2 separate regions of the Homo sapiens genome follow, and region 1 is linked to region 2. Evidence: promoter capture Hi-C in 16 types of primary human blood cells and fetal thymus (Javierre and others, 2016). All regions are on one chromosome and are shown on one strand. Each heading gives the region's core, a stretch centred on a gene start or on the middle of the fragment in contact. The rest is flanking DNA. Distances are from core to core; before and after follow the strand shown.

The links. Contacts are between HindIII fragments. The CHiCAGO score rates a contact against its expected background, and 5 or more counts as called.
Region 1: a contact is called between a fragment that was not itself captured here and the fragment with the promoter of ARIH1 in region 2, in 2 of 17 cell types (naive CD4 T cells and activated CD4 T cells). The highest score is 6.1, in naive CD4 T cells.

The regions. Positions count from the first base shown.
Region 1 is chr15:73,048,475-73,051,174 of GRCh38, forward strand. No RefSeq gene overlaps it. Among named protein-coding and RNA genes, the nearest start is that of NEO1, 2.6 kb to the right of the region's middle. The HindIII fragment of the contact is 1,546 bases long and covers 607-2,152 here.
Region 2 is chr15:72,473,069-72,475,768 of GRCh38, forward strand. ARIH1 (ariadne RBR E3 ubiquitin protein ligase 1) reads left to right here and starts at 1,262. Exons shown (of 14, transcript NM_005744.5): 1 at 1,262-1,946. The coding sequence starts at 1,572. TMEM202-AS1 (TMEM202 antisense RNA 1) reads right to left here and starts at 1,171. Exons shown (of 4, transcript NR_135678.1): 1 at 807-1,171. RefSeq lists enhancers at 626-725, 2,176-2,385 and silencers at 966-1,305, 1,157-1,353, 1,396-1,625. The HindIII fragment of the contact is 10,721 bases long and covers 1-2,700 here.

The DNA of each region.
Region 1 (2,700 bases), core at 130-2,629, 580 kb after region 2:
GGTGGATTCTAATTGGAAAAATGGAGGCTCACCTTATTTTCAGAAGCACCTTATACTCAGGCATATGTAGTGTATGCTGATGACTCACTTCTCCAGTCCTATCTCCCTGCTAAACTCCAGATCCAAGTAATGAACGGCTTACTGATATTTCTACTCAGATGTATTTAAAGTACCTATGTATGCATAGGTACTTTAAATTTCCTTGTCCAAAGTTAAACTAACATTGTCTCCCATCTGCTCATCTTTCTCATTCCCCCCTCAGTGAATGCCACCACCTTCATTCAGCTTCCCAAGTTGAAATCTGAGTTACCCACATCTCCTATCTCTCCCACACACCCCTGCTGTTTCTATCTATCTCCTAAATCTCTCTCTTATCTGTTCACTTTTCTTAATCCCCTTTGCTTTACTCCAGGCCACCATCATCTCCTCCCTAGACTATTGTAACAAAATCTGAACTGTTTTTTTTTTTTTTTGGTCTCGACTTCTTCCAAACTACACTCCAAGAAGCAGCCTCAGTGTTCCCTCTAAAACGCAAATCTGAGGTCAAATCCCACCTGTAGGCGTGGCTGACTCCTATCTACCTTCAGGTCTCTGTTTAGAGGCCAAAGCTTCTCTAATTCTCCTTCTCCCACCCCCACACACAATTTAGTCAAGTTAGATGCTCTTACTAAGTTTTCCCACACTCCTTATCTTTCCTTACCATAACAGTCTTTACACTTCTTTGTTATAATTGTTTACCCTTTCTGCTAGACTGGGAACTTTGTTTATCTGGCTCATCACTGTCTTCCCTTAACATAAGCCAGGACCAGAGACACAGGATGTACTTTATAAATATTAAATGAATGAACCAATAATTTTGTTATCCCAGCATCCAGCACAATACTTGGTGAAAACAGGTCCTCAATAATTTTTGCTGAATTAATAGATTGTTGTTGAACTAAAGATATGTGATCAACTAAGCAACATGTGACAAGCAAAATTAATATTGAGCATGCTTGTACTTAAAAAGGAGCACACATCCTTTTTAATTACGCTTAATCAGAGATGGCTCCCTAGAGCAGGTGGCTTCTGAAGGAGAACGGGAGAAAATAAAAATTCTTACCTAGTGGAATGTAAAGGGCAAATATAAAAATAACAATCTCTGTGCAGAAGAAAATCACTTTCTTAAGACTGGGGCAACTTCTAGTTGAAGTCTGCTGTGACTAGGAAGTGTTCTATCCTGAGATCTGCTAGTCAGGGGACTAGCTTTCTTCTTCTCAACCTCGGACACTGGGATTCAGCCAGGGAATCAGCTGCAGAATCTCATTACTGCCAGCAGTTAAACACTGAATTGTACGTCCTTTCTAATGTTGAAAAAAAAATCCTTTTACTATAGAGAATAAGATTCCTACCAAGTTTTATATTCATAGGCTTTAATATTTCATGTAATTTTTATATCAAAATACATTAGCATAAATTTCACAAGATATCAGTCTAGTTATTTTTGGCCTGCATTTCGATAACTTTTACAGACACACAATGGCCACTCTGTTTTCTTTGCTCTAAAGTTTCTTTGTGCACTTATTCCTTGAACATGGGCCTCATGTTCTAACTTTACTTAGATGAAAAAACTGTTAATTTCACCAGTGGTTTAATATCTCTTCATAGATTGATAGTTTAGACAACATAAAAGTGTTGATTAGCAGTATACGTGCAGGCTGAAGTATTTGTTGAAAATCTTGTTGGGAGAATAAGAATGATAAAAGAGATGCCTAAGAAAATCTTTTCTCAGATATGCTTTACTAAACAAAGAACAGGTTAATTACTCAATGATGATTTTTAAAGGGCATGTCGACAGTGTCAGTGACTTTGAAACAAAGTAAAGGAGCTGAATTCAAGTGTGTGCCTGAGTTACTTAACTATCTTGAACTGATTTAGGATCTGTAGCTTTAATCTGGGGCTCCATCTACTAGTGGTTTAATAGAGTGGGTTTTATTAAAATTGTGATTTAATCAGAAGCCAGAAATATACAACTGTTTTAAACTTTTTGATATTAACCTGATATACACAGTGGGCTGATAAATTAGTGAGACAGTTCATATAAGTCATATATGAAAATCAGTCTGTTATTAGCCACAACTCATGTATTTTTCAAAACTTGGAGATAAATGTAAGCTTCATCTCAGAAGTCATATTACACGTTATAGGTTTAATATAATGAAATTTTTCCAGACTTAGAAAAGATATCAGGAAATTAACATTTGCAAGGCAATTTACAGTTTTCAAAGAGCTTTTCTCATTAATTATCTCAGAAAACTGAATAATGATGTGATTATTAAAGGTTAATTAAGCAAATACTTGTGAAGTAATTGGGAGGTAATCTATTTCTAATTTAACAGGTCAATCACGGGTATTTAGGAAATATTTTTGCTGGTTAACAACTCTAACCAAAACAAAAAGGTATTTAAATGGTTTCCCTAGTGAAAAACCATAAGCATGTGTTTCCTCTATTAAGTCAATTGTTTCAAAGAACTAGCATGAGAATTCCTAATTTCACCGTTTTGATGATTTAAGGTTTTATGAAGATTCTGAGCTCTTCCCTCCCGACGTTAATCCATGTCTTACATTGTTCATTTTGGCGCTTTAGAATAAAATATCTTTGGAAAGTAACTATGAGAAAGCACAGAGGGATATGTTAGTGAAATAGCCATTTTCTTGTGG
Region 2 (2,700 bases), core at 12-2,511:
AGATTATCTCAAGAGGGAGCCTTCTTATGCCTCTTCTTCCTTCATAACACTTCTCTGGCTCGCATGTCCTGTTTGCAAAGATTTAAGCCCACTCTTAGGCATAAAATGCTCTTAACTGACATGACCCCTGACTAACTTGCCTAATATTTTGCCATGTACCCTCCATGCACTTTAAGCTCCCCAAACTATTACTTACTTGACACCTTCTGCGCTTTTGCTTGTTCTCTGCGGCTAGACCATCTTCCCTACCTTCTCTGTTGAACTCCTAGCCATTCATCAACACTCAGCTCACATAGCACACTTTCAGATGAGATTCAAGCATTATCTCTCTGGCTACATTTGGCCCTTGTAGATATTTCTATTATTGCCTGTATTTTGTTGAAGCATTCATGTCTTTTATGTACTACATAGTACATAATATATCTACATTACAAAGCATTTTTATGATTCATGTTTTGGGGCATCCAGCGGTTAAAATAGGGCAAGGGTTATGTGGTCTTGGCCAGGTCCCTTTTCCTTTCTGAGCTTCAGGTTCCTCAGGTATAAAATGGGTACTATGGCTCCGTGAAGATGAGACAGAATATATGTAAAGCCCTTACACAGTGCTCAATTCATGAAAATCATCGCTGTTTACATTGTTTAGGGCCCTCAAGAGGCGCTCTTGTCAGCGGGGTGGAGGAAATGCCTCTTTAAAATGACGTCATTATAGGAGACTTAAAAACCACTGCACGTCTGTACAAGTGGACAGAATCACACAGCTACCTAAAGTGGGTTCACCTGTCATACAGTTTAGAGGTTCCACTTACAACAGGTTTCCATCAGTAGCCAAAGCAACAGAAATTTTAGCTTAACGGCTGAGGGCTTCCGGGATTACCGCAGGGCGGGCGGGAAGCGCCTTTCCGCTCCGGAGGGAAGGCCGCGTCCCCAAGGGACTGCCTAAGTGGGCTGGATCCCTATGGCCTGCGGCAGACACCACCACGTAGGCGGTCCAGGGGTCCCTCTCTCGGTGACTGGTGACCAGGAGGCCGCAATCTCTTCACATAAAAGGTCTACGGGTTTCCGCTCGGCCCTCACAGCGGCAGCGGATCGAACCAGGAAAGCAATTCCCGCTCGGCTCCCCTCGGGTCCCAGGCCCAGGAAGGCCGGGCCGTGGGGTCTCCCCGGGCTCCACGCAGGGGCGGTGGGGCGGGGCGCAGTGACGCAAAGAGGAGTGACGCGACGACGCAGCGCGACGCGGTGACGCACGCCCCTTTGTTGGCTCAGTAGCGATAGCAGCGGCCGTGGAGGTGGCGTTGGGGACTGTTTTCTCTCGGAGGCCGGAGCGGAGCCGCGTCTGACTGAGGCGGGCAGCAAGCGGCCCCCTCGCTCCCTCCCTCCCTCCTCCGCGCCCTCCCCGCCGCCACCAGCCGTCAAACGCCAACCGCCGCTCCTGGGGAGGAGCCGCGGCTCGCGGGGCCGGAGCCAGGCCTGCGTCCGGACATCAGCCGGAGCCGGAGCGAGAGCCGGGGCCTCGGCGTCCCCGCCCTCTCCCCGCCTCGGCCAGCGTCCGCCGGGCCCCCGCGCGTCGCGCCATGGACTCGGACGAGGGCTACAACTACGAGTTCGACGAGGACGAGGAGTGCAGTGAGGAGGACAGCGGCGCCGAGGAGGAGGAGGACGAAGACGACGACGAGCCGGACGATGATACCCTGGATCTGGGCGAGGTGGAGCTGGTGGAGCCCGGGCTGGGCGTCGGCGGGGAGCGGGACGGACTGCTGTGCGGGGAGACGGGCGGTGGCGGCGGCAGCGCTCTGGGGCCCGGCGGTGGCGGCGGCGGCGGCGGCGGCGGTGGTGGTGGCGGGCCGGGGCATGAGCAGGAGGAGGATTACCGCTACGAGGTGCTCACGGCCGAGCAGATTCTACAACACATGGTGGAATGTATCCGGGAGGTCAACGAGGTCATCCAGGTGAGGGTGGCCGCCGCGCCAGCTGGACCGGGCCCGACGGGGGAGCGGATTCAGGCGGCACGCGCGGTCCCGAGGGACAGGCCTGGGCCTGGTGCGCAGCCTAGCCCGGTGCCTCCCGGCCTTGTCTTCTCCGCTGCCTCTGCTGGGGATAGAGGGTGTCGAAAGCAGAGGTTCGCCGATTAGCCGGGTGTGGGGAGGTGCGCTGGGGGCGGTGCTTCCCAAGTCCTGCTATGGCGGAGGCCTTCGGTCGCCTAAGCCTTCTCTTGCGGGCAATTTCTGCCAGTCCCTGGGCCGGGTGTCCTTTCTCTGGCCGGGCGATCGCCTACTGGGGCGGGGCGGAGGAGGTGGGGTGGAGAAGAGGAGTCAGGAAGAATTGGGCCCTGACGGGACTTACCCCGGCCGTAGCCTCATTTGAGCACTTTTGGAAGGGATTAGAGTAGGCCTAAGAGCAGCTTGGTGTACAGTTGCCCCAAGTGGGCACCAGTTAATAAAGAAATGGATCTTGGCAGTCTCAAGTGCCTACTTAAAGGTGGGGGAAGGGAAGTATTTCTCGGAAGAGGTGCTGATGGGCCTTCTTTTCAGATGGTGAGGCTTCTGCTTACATCTTTTTTATGTCTTTGCTGTTTGGGACCTAATTGCTACTTTTTCTAGTCGTAGCAGATGACTTGCTTGAAGCTGTTGGAATAGTTACTGCATATTGCATACCCTTCCTTGTAGCTAAAACAACAACAAAACGCAGTGTTGTCTAATATTG